Linked DNA regions of Homo sapiens: region 1 is linked to region 2. The links are contacts of gene promoters, found by promoter capture Hi-C in human tissues and cell types (Jung and others, 2019). All regions are on one chromosome and are shown on one strand. Each heading gives the region's core, a stretch centred on a gene start or on the middle of the fragment in contact. The rest is flanking DNA. Distances are from core to core; before and after follow the strand shown.

The links. The method cuts DNA at HindIII sites, captures the fragments that hold promoters and counts their contacts. A contact is called where the count stands out against the background at its distance.
Region 1: a fragment that was not itself captured here is called in contact with the fragment with the promoter of PHF21B in region 2 in 2 of the 25 tissues and cell types used here (IMR-90 fibroblasts and pancreas).

What each region holds. Positions count from the first base shown.
Region 1 is chr22:45,051,979-45,056,154 of GRCh38, forward strand. No RefSeq gene overlaps it. Among named protein-coding and RNA genes, the nearest start is that of PHF21B, 44 kb to the left of the region's middle. RefSeq lists enhancers at 1-757, 758-1,562, 1,563-2,366. The HindIII fragment of the contact is 6,724 bases long and covers 1-4,176 here.
Region 2 is chr22:45,007,814-45,012,377 of GRCh38, forward strand. It overlaps PHF21B (PHD finger protein 21B), which reads right to left and starts at 2,192. Exons shown (of 13, transcript NM_138415.5): 1 at 1,683-2,192; 2 at 732-797. The coding sequence starts at 1,736. RefSeq lists an enhancer at 571-1,172. The HindIII fragment of the contact is 18,572 bases long and covers 1-4,564 here.

The DNA of each region.
Region 1 (4,176 bases), core at 852-3,351, 44 kb after region 2:
GCACTTCTGCAAGCCAGGCTCTGCCTTTCCTCCTGCAGGAGAGCTCTGTGTGTCCTTTGGCCATCACCTTAGAGCCCGCAGCACATCCAAGCTTATCCACTCACATCTTCTTTCCACCCTTAAGAACAGAAGCGGCACGGAGCAGAGACCAGCCTAGGACCCGAGCCCTGGGCACAGGGCCTGCCGCATCGGGCATGGATGACGGGTGTGGGATTCCACCCCCCGTAAGGCCCGCCCCAGCTCTCTGTCACCTCCCCCAAGACCCAGGCTCTAACTCAGAGATCTCTGAAAATAGGACAATGATTCCTTGTGTTGTGGCCTCTGTTCATTCCACTCTCTGCCTCTAATACTCTTCGGTCTTTCTGTTCTGTTTGGTCAGCTGCGGGTCCCTCTTCAAGCAGCAACTCACAGGTCCATCTCTTCGGGGTGCCCTCCAGGCCTCCCAGGGAGGGGACTGCATTGCTGGGTCCCTTCTCAGGGACCCTCATTCCATCCTCACCACCCTGGCCTCATCCCTCATCTCTCCCTGCTGTGGCAGAACACTTCTGCCTCCCTTCTCTCCGACAGAAGACGAAGCTTCTATACTTGCTTCCAATGGCTTCTTGAAAAGCGGCATGGCCCAGTCCATCAGGCTTGTGAAAGGAAAATAAATCTCGGGGCCCCAGATCACTAAGCTAAAGGGAAAAGTTGAGCTGGGAACTGCTTAGGGTCAACCTGCCTCCCATTCTATTCAAAGTCACCCCTCTGCTCACTGAGATAAATGCATATCTGATTGCCTCCTTTGGAGAGGCTCATCAGAAACTCAAAAGAATGCAACCTTTTGTCTCTTATCTACCTAAGCCCCTCCCTGCTTCCCTCCCACCATTGCATCGAGTTGTCCTGCCTTTCCAGACTGAACCAATGTTCCTCTCACACGTGTTGATTGATGTCTTCTGTCTCCCTAGAATGTATAAAACCAAACTGTCCTCTGACCACCTTGGGCACATGTCTTCAAGACCTCCTGAGGCTGTATTCTTGGCATATAAAGGTGTAAACCAGAAAGTATCTGAGACGGGTCTCAATTAATTTAGAAATTTATTTTGCCAAGATTAAGGACATGCCCCAGAGAGAAGTCTGTGCCTTTCTCCAAAGATGATTTTGAGGGCTTCCATATTTAAAGGGGAAAAGTGAACTGGAGGAGAAAGAGGGAGGGTGTAGTTACTGAATCCACATGTTACAAGGGAAAAGCAGCAGGTAGGGGAGTAGTCAATCATGTATTCGCCTGGCACTCAGTAAATCAGCACTTTACATAAGATAAGGTGAACACTGGATTAGCTACCTGGAGAGATACTTAACCTTTTCTCTGTAGCTCTCTGCTTAGGAACAAAAGGAAAGGTAGCTTCTTGCATGACTCAGCTTGCAGCCTAATTTCTTTCTTTTGGCCAAGTGAATTGGGGTCCTGAGTTTTTATTTTCCTTTCACAAAGGGGAGCTTTAGAAGATCCTTCTCTTGCCCAAAACATAAAAATAAAAAGTTGGCTTTCAAGACTATGTTCTTACTCCAGATCAGGGGCTCTCAGCTGGGATGATTCTGCCTGCCAGGGGGCATTGGGTGGTGTCTGGAGACATTTTTAATCATCTGGACTTGGAGGCCGAGGAGTGGCCCCTCTATCTGAATGTGGGTAGAGGCCAAGGATGCTGCTGATGCCCTACAGGATCTTACCTCAAATGTCCACAGTGTCCAGGCTGAGCAACTCTGCCCTAGGCCTAACAAATCCTACTTTGCATGCAAAAACCAAGCCCCAAGTCTTTTCTCTTGATGTTCCTCCTGAAGCAATGCTAATTGCCCCTGAGGCAAAGGACACCTTGGCTGAATAGAAGGGACTCAAGAAAATGCATGCTTTTAAATACAGCCTTTACAAATGTCACCAAGGAGAGGTCCTTAGCACTGTGGGACTATATTGAGGGCCCCTGACATCATCTGGGTCTCCTCAGGGGAGATTGAGATTTGAAATACAAGGGAAGAGGAGTTCTGAGCAAAAGGACATACAGACCCAGAAGTTGGGCTGTGATATGGTTTGGCTGTGTCCCCACCCGTATCTCATCTTGAATTATAGCTCCCACAGGTCATGGGAGGGACCCAATGGGAGGTAATTAAATCATGGGGGCAGGTTTTCCAATGCTGTTCTCATGATAGTGAATAAGTCTCATGAGATCTGATGGTTTTATAAAGGGCAGTTCCCCTGCACACATTCTCTTGCCTGCCACCATGTAAGATATGCCTTTGCTCCTCCTTTGCCTTCTGCCATGATTGTGAGGCCTCCCCAGCCATGTGGAACTGTGAGTCCAATAAATCTCTTTTTCTTTATAAATTACCCAGTCTCAGGTATTTCATTATAACACGTTTGGGACAGCGGACTGGGAGGGGGTGGGAGGGGCTGGAGGGAAAGGAGCTGCCTGGGTCATCCTAGGAGTGCTGGAAGCTGCTGTAGGCCAGGCATACACACACGACACATCCAGACAGAGAAGGGGGCACAGAGTGAAGCTGGGAGAGGAGAGCCCAGAACAGTAGCTGTCCCACGACTTCCCACACAGAAGCGCTCCGCTAAGGAGCTGGTTCTTTTTTTACATATATAATAAACAATATTAAAGACCAATACATAAATAAGTGGGAGTGAACAGGTTAAAGGTAATTAATATCAAAATTAAGATCTTTCTTTCTTTCTCTCTCTCTTTCTCTTGCTTTTTCCGTTCGTCACACGCAGGCTGGACCGTGGCAAAAAATTAACCAAAAGGTCAACTTCAGTGTGAAGGAAGGAGCATTAGGAGAACAGAGAAAGGAATAAAGAAAAACAGCAGCAAATTACTCTTAGTACTGTGGAAACAAACAGAAATTGGGCTTAGAAAAAAAAAAAAACAGAGGAAGCCGGGCGCGGTGGCTCACGCCTGTAATCCCAGCACTTTGGGAGGCTGAGGCAGGTGGATCATGAGGTCAGGAAATCGAGACCATCCTGGCTAACACGGTGAAACCCCGTCTCTAATAAAAATACAAAAAATTAGCCGGGCGTGGTGGTGGGTGCCTGTAGTCCCAGCTACTCGGGAGGCTGAGGGAGGAGAATGGCGTGAACCCAGGAGGCGGAGCTTGCAGTGAGCCAAGATCGCGCCACTGCACTCCATCCTGGGAGACAGAGTGAGACTCCGTCTCAAAAAAAAAAAAAACAAAACAAACAAAAAAAAAAACAGAGGAAGAAGGTCCAAATAGTCCCAGGTACTCGGGAGTCCGAGATAGGAAGAACATTTGGGCAACACCGGGGAGACTGAGGCTGCAGCGAATCATGATCACATTCCTCTGCTGGACCTGAATGGTCAGGAACATGTTCTTAAGCAGAAAAGAGCCACGATGTCTCTGCATTCCAAATCTAGGGATTCTGATTCAACAAGTCCAGATCACTCTATACACCTGGTTGTGATGACCCAAGACTCTAACCTGGACCCTCATGCAGTGAGTATTACCACAACCCAGGTCACATTTACTGAGCGGGAGTGGGGGCTTCCTGAGCAAATCCCAGGGAACTTTGGAGTCTGCACAGCTCACCGTGCTGCTGTGCTCCGGGAGGGTGTTGTCAAAGGGTTCTAAGAGGAAAATCAGAAACGTTTTGGCAACCTGACTGGAACCCTAAACCTCCCCCAAGCCCCCCACCCCCCATGCTAGCATCTCCTTTGTGCCGCAGTCTCTCCAAACGGCATTTGCTTCTCCTCTCTCCCCTACCGCCCTTTTGCCACATCAAACCTTAGATGCTGGAGTCCTTGAGTTAAGACCAGCGACTTTGACATGTTTAAAAGGAAATGAAACTGGTTTAAATAACACAGTTCTGGGTTTTATGAAGATCGTGCACTAAAGTACATAGCACAGATTAGTCCTCCCAGCTTGCAGGAAAAATAAAAACACCCCAGGGTCTCTGCTTTGCCAGTTCCCGACAGAGGAGCGAAGGGAGGGTAAAGGACGTTGCGAGTTCAATGTAAAAGGCAAGGAGAAGACAGCTGACGGGGCTTTGCGGATGCACGAAGAAGTGGGAGGATGTCCGGATCCTCTTTGGAATACAAACCCTGTCATCGTCCATGCCCCGAAGTTGCTGGAGCTGCAAAGGCCTCAGTCCAACGAGGACTGAGACGCTGCTGGCCTCGAAAGGAGATCTCA
Region 2 (4,564 bases), core at 942-3,441:
GGCGGCGGCATCTGTTCGTGGTGCTGAAACCCCGAGCGCTGAGCTCAGCGCAACTAAGTCACAATGGACAACTTTTCCTCCCCGGAGGGGGCCCGGAGGGGGGGGAGCGGTCGCGCCTCCGACGCGTGGGAGCTTCTCAGGTGTCCCCAACTACACCTAACGCCCGGAGCCCAAAGTTGGAGCAGAACTGGGGAGTCCCGGGGGCGCGTTTCTTTTGTTCCCCGGGAGCTGGCGTCAGGTTCCAAGAATAAAAAGTGAAGCTAGGGAAGTGGAAGGTGGTGGGGGGGAGGGAGCCTCGAGGAACGATTTCAAAACGAGGTTTGCCACGGAACCCAGAAATCGCTTCCAACGAGTTTGGTGTCCAGGCCCCCACGGCCGCCCCCCTCCGCCCCCATGGCCGCCTCAGCGCAAAGCGGGGGACTCCGAGCCGGGAGAAATCGCCACGTTCCAAAAACATGTCCACCACCTCAAAATGGACGCCGGGCCGCGCGCTGCCTTTTAAGTGAGCTCCTCTCTTCGGCCCCCGCAGGGCCCGGCTCTCCCTGCCGCCTCCGAGAACCCGGCTCTTTCTTTCCAGGAAAGGGGAGGGGTGGGGAACTTTGAGAACTGGAGACAGACCCCTCTGGGAGTCTGAGCGTGCGTCGCCCAGGCTGGCACTTTTTAGGGCGCCGCCAAAGTGCCCAGCCACCCTCCCGCCCCATCCCAGGGGGGGCCGCGATCCCATCGCTTACTTGTTTGTCGCTGAGCGCGGCGATCCGCGGCTGCCTTTCGTGGAGCTGCTTCTTGAGGTCGCCGTTCTGCGGAAACACGGAGGAGCGGGCTCAGGCAGGCCACCCGGGGTCAGGTGCACCCCAGCACCGCGGGCCGCGGCACCCCCCGCCCGGAGCCCCACGGGCGGGGCCGGCCGCAGCGCACCCCAAGTTTCCCGGGCCGCGTCCTGCACGCGCGGCGGCCGGGCAGTGCCGCGCGGGGCCGCTTACCTGTGGCTGCCGCCTCATCGGGGCAGCTCGCGGGGCGGGGCGGGGGCCGAGGCCACCCGGCGGCGCGCCCCGAGCCGTGCAAGTTTGCAGGCCGGGGTGCGTGTGCGAGTGAGTGTGAGTGTGAGTGTGTGCCGGGGGAGGGGGGAGGAACAAAGAGCCAAGTAAACACGGCGAGTCCGTGTCGAGCAAAGCTCATAAATATTCAAGTCGCGTCCTAATCTCCCCAACACACACACGCGCACGCCGAGCCCCGCTCAGGCTCCGGCCGCCACGCCGCCGCTCGCCAGCAGCGATCGCCAAAACTACTTCTGCACACCGGGCAGGTTCGCCCGGGGCGCGGGGGCCCGAGGGGAGGCCGGAAGGGGGCCTATTCGCACTCCCCTCCCCGGGACCGGCTCACGAAGGGGCCCCCTCCAGGCACCCTCCCAGTCATGCAGACCCTACATCGCTTAAGAGAAGACTCCAGGCTCGGGTCCCACGCGTCCTCGATCCCGCAAACTGTGCAGGACAGCGCCAGGGGCAGGCGGAGGGGAGCCCAGAAGGGGGTCCGCGCGTGTGCTCACTCCCTCGCCCCCCGCCCCCGGGCAGGCTCCAGCCTGGAAGACCCAGAGACCCGGAAGAGAGGATGCTGGGCTCGGGTCCCCCGACCCCCTCACCCCGCAACACACTCCCCGGCCCCGGGCCCGGCCCCCGGCCACCTACCTGGTGGCGCGCGAGTTCCACGGCGAGCGCCTCGGGCCGGCTCTGCAGCTCCATCCCGGCAACTTGGGCAGCACTTTGCGCTCACTTTGGCCCGGGCTCCCGGGAAGTTGCGCGGCTCCGCGGGGGCCAGAGCGGGCGCGGGCGGACGCGGCCTCCGGGCTGGGTTGGGGGGGACACGAGCCCCCTCCCCCACGGCCGAAAGGGAAGGGGGCTGGCGAAGGGGAAGACAGGCTTCCGGGCGCCGCGGCGCCGAGCCCTCGGCTGCCCCAACTCCTCAGGCTGCCCGGCAAGTTGCGCCGGGTCCCCGGGCTGCCGGCGCGGCCCGGAGCATGGCCCCCCCGGCGCCGGGAGCCCCGCGCAGCCCCGCGCGCGCCCGCCCAGCCGCCGCCGCCGCCGCCTCCTCCCGCGCGAGCCTCCCGCGGGCAGGGACTATATTTCCTCCGGCGCGCGCGCCTGGATCTCGTTGGGCCTCGGCAAAGTTGTGCCTCGGCACGATGCTAATTCGGCAGTGCCCGGATGGAGCGGGCCGGGGCGGCGGGGGGCGGTGCCGGGACCCTCAGCCCGCCGCGCCCCGCCCCCGCCCCGCCCGCGCCTGCGCACTGCCGCCCCGCCGCGGCCCGGCACCCCGAGCGGAGAACAAAAGTGGCGGTGGACGGGGACGCACGGTCGCCGGCTCCGGGGACTGCTCGGGCCGGGCGCTCGGAGAGGACGACTGCGGAGTCATCCTCTCCGTCCCCGGGCCAACCCGGGGAACGCGGCGCCCCCACCCCCTGCGCCGTGTAACGCCGGGATCAGGACACTTTCCGCTGGGAGGCTGCGAGTCCGTGTTTCCATTTCTCCTCACCCTGGTCCTCGGCTCCCTCCTTTCCCCCCTCCTCCGCCTCCCTCTGATATTTTATTTAAATTCTTCCGTCCCCTCCTGTCCATACCAGCGCCGCGACTTGGGGGATTAAATTAGTCGCGTCGCCACATTCCCCCGCCGCCTGATGGCCTCCGTGTTGTTTAAACAGCAAGAAAATTGATCTCTTGGCTCTTCCTTTAATGATTTTTTTTTACACGATTAAACTCTCAACAGATGTCACTGGACATTTTAAGACTCTTGTTAAGAGTCGTAAACAGGCCCGGTCAATGCGACCTAAAACAATTATAATTACAGCTGCGGAGGTCGCGTTTCAGAACCCCCAGCCGCGCAGCCAGGAGGTTAATGTCCCAGAGTCACTGTCACCACCTCGGGGCTGCCATCTTCATTCAGGTCGGAGTGCCGGGTGCCCTGTTGGCAGCAAACTGGCACGTTTGAAACACGCTGGGGAGAAAGGGTGCAATCATATGTCAAAGTAAACGTTTAAGCTGTTAAGTCGTTTTAACTTCAGATTCCTCTCCGGCAGCACAAAAAATACCCAAGCAAGCACCATCAGCAAATGTCCCTTTCAACATATGCCAACAGGTCACACATTGCTTTTGTTGGCAGAAGTTATTGGAATTCCCCCTTTTCTTTCTTTTCTTTTTTTTTTTTTTTTCAAGTGAGGACCCCAGTGTTGTTCTGCTCTCTGTTAGGGAATTTGTAATAAATTACGTGTTTGGGACCCCCAAACACAGATGGCCCCTCATCCCACAACCCAGCACCTCGCCTTCAGAGCACGACAGAGTGAGACTTAGGATATGAGTAACTATGCAAAAAGCAGAGGGGCATGTAGATGACCCTTACTTTAACCCAAATTAGTTAACAGAAACTTGCAAACAGCGCTTTAAGACTCCATAGGAGGCCGGCCGGGGGCGGTGGCTCACACCTGTAATCCCAGTACTTTGGGAGGCCGAAGTGGGCAGATCACGAGGTCAGGAGTTCGAGACCAGCCTGCCCAACATGGTCTCGACTAAAAATACAAAAAATTAGGCATGGTGGCGCAAGCCTGTAATCCCAGCTACTCGGGAGGCTGAGGCAGGAGAGTTGCTTCAACCCAGGAGGCAGAGGTTGCAGTGAGCCGAGATTGCACCACAGCACTCCAGTCTGGGCAACAGAGCAAGACTCTGTCTCAGAAAAAACAAACAAACAAACAGAAAAGACTCAACAGGAGGAGCCACTACCCTCCGGCCAGCATCTGCCTGAATCTGTGTGGGCCGAAGATGACCTGAATAACCTCTGTTGATTTAATTACGTAGGTTAAATATGTGGGTTACGGTAAGGATCATATACATGCCCCTCTGTTTTTTGCATAGTTACTTACTGTGTGAGTCTCATTCTGTCGTGCAGGCTAATGTGCAGTGGTGAAATCATAGCTCACCACTGCCTCCACCTCACCTGCTCAAGCAATCCTCCCACCTCAGCCTCCCAAGTAGCTGGGACCACAGTCACACCATAAGCCAACACTGGTTAATGTGGATGCAAAACTAGCCCGTGTTTGAAGTGGTCGTGATTCCTTTGGTTTTGCCCCAAGCAGGGAGAAGCAAGGTTCCTCAAATGCAAAACAAAGAGGCTGACTCAGGGTGCCCCAATAGGTACCCACTCCTCCCACTTCTGGGTTTAGCCCGGGTCAGGGTGGTGGCCTCCCTCCTTAGTGCTTTTGCTGGGCTGAACACCAGCCCAGGAAAGTGGACTGCCCTGGAGACCCATGCTTGGAGAGCCAGAGAGAAAGTGTGCAGAAAGAGGATTCCTACTGTAATCTCTGTAAATGCCACTGGCTTCTTGGTAAAAATTCAGAGTAATTTTATCAGCCACGTAGGGTAATTAAATCAACAGAGGATATTCAGGTCATCTTCAGTCCACACAGTCTCAGGCTGATGCTGGCCAGAGGATAGTGGCTCCGACTGTGGAATCTTAAAGCACTGTTTAAGTGCATGGTGTAGCAAAAGATCCGACAGAGACAGCAGAGACACAGGGCCCCTGT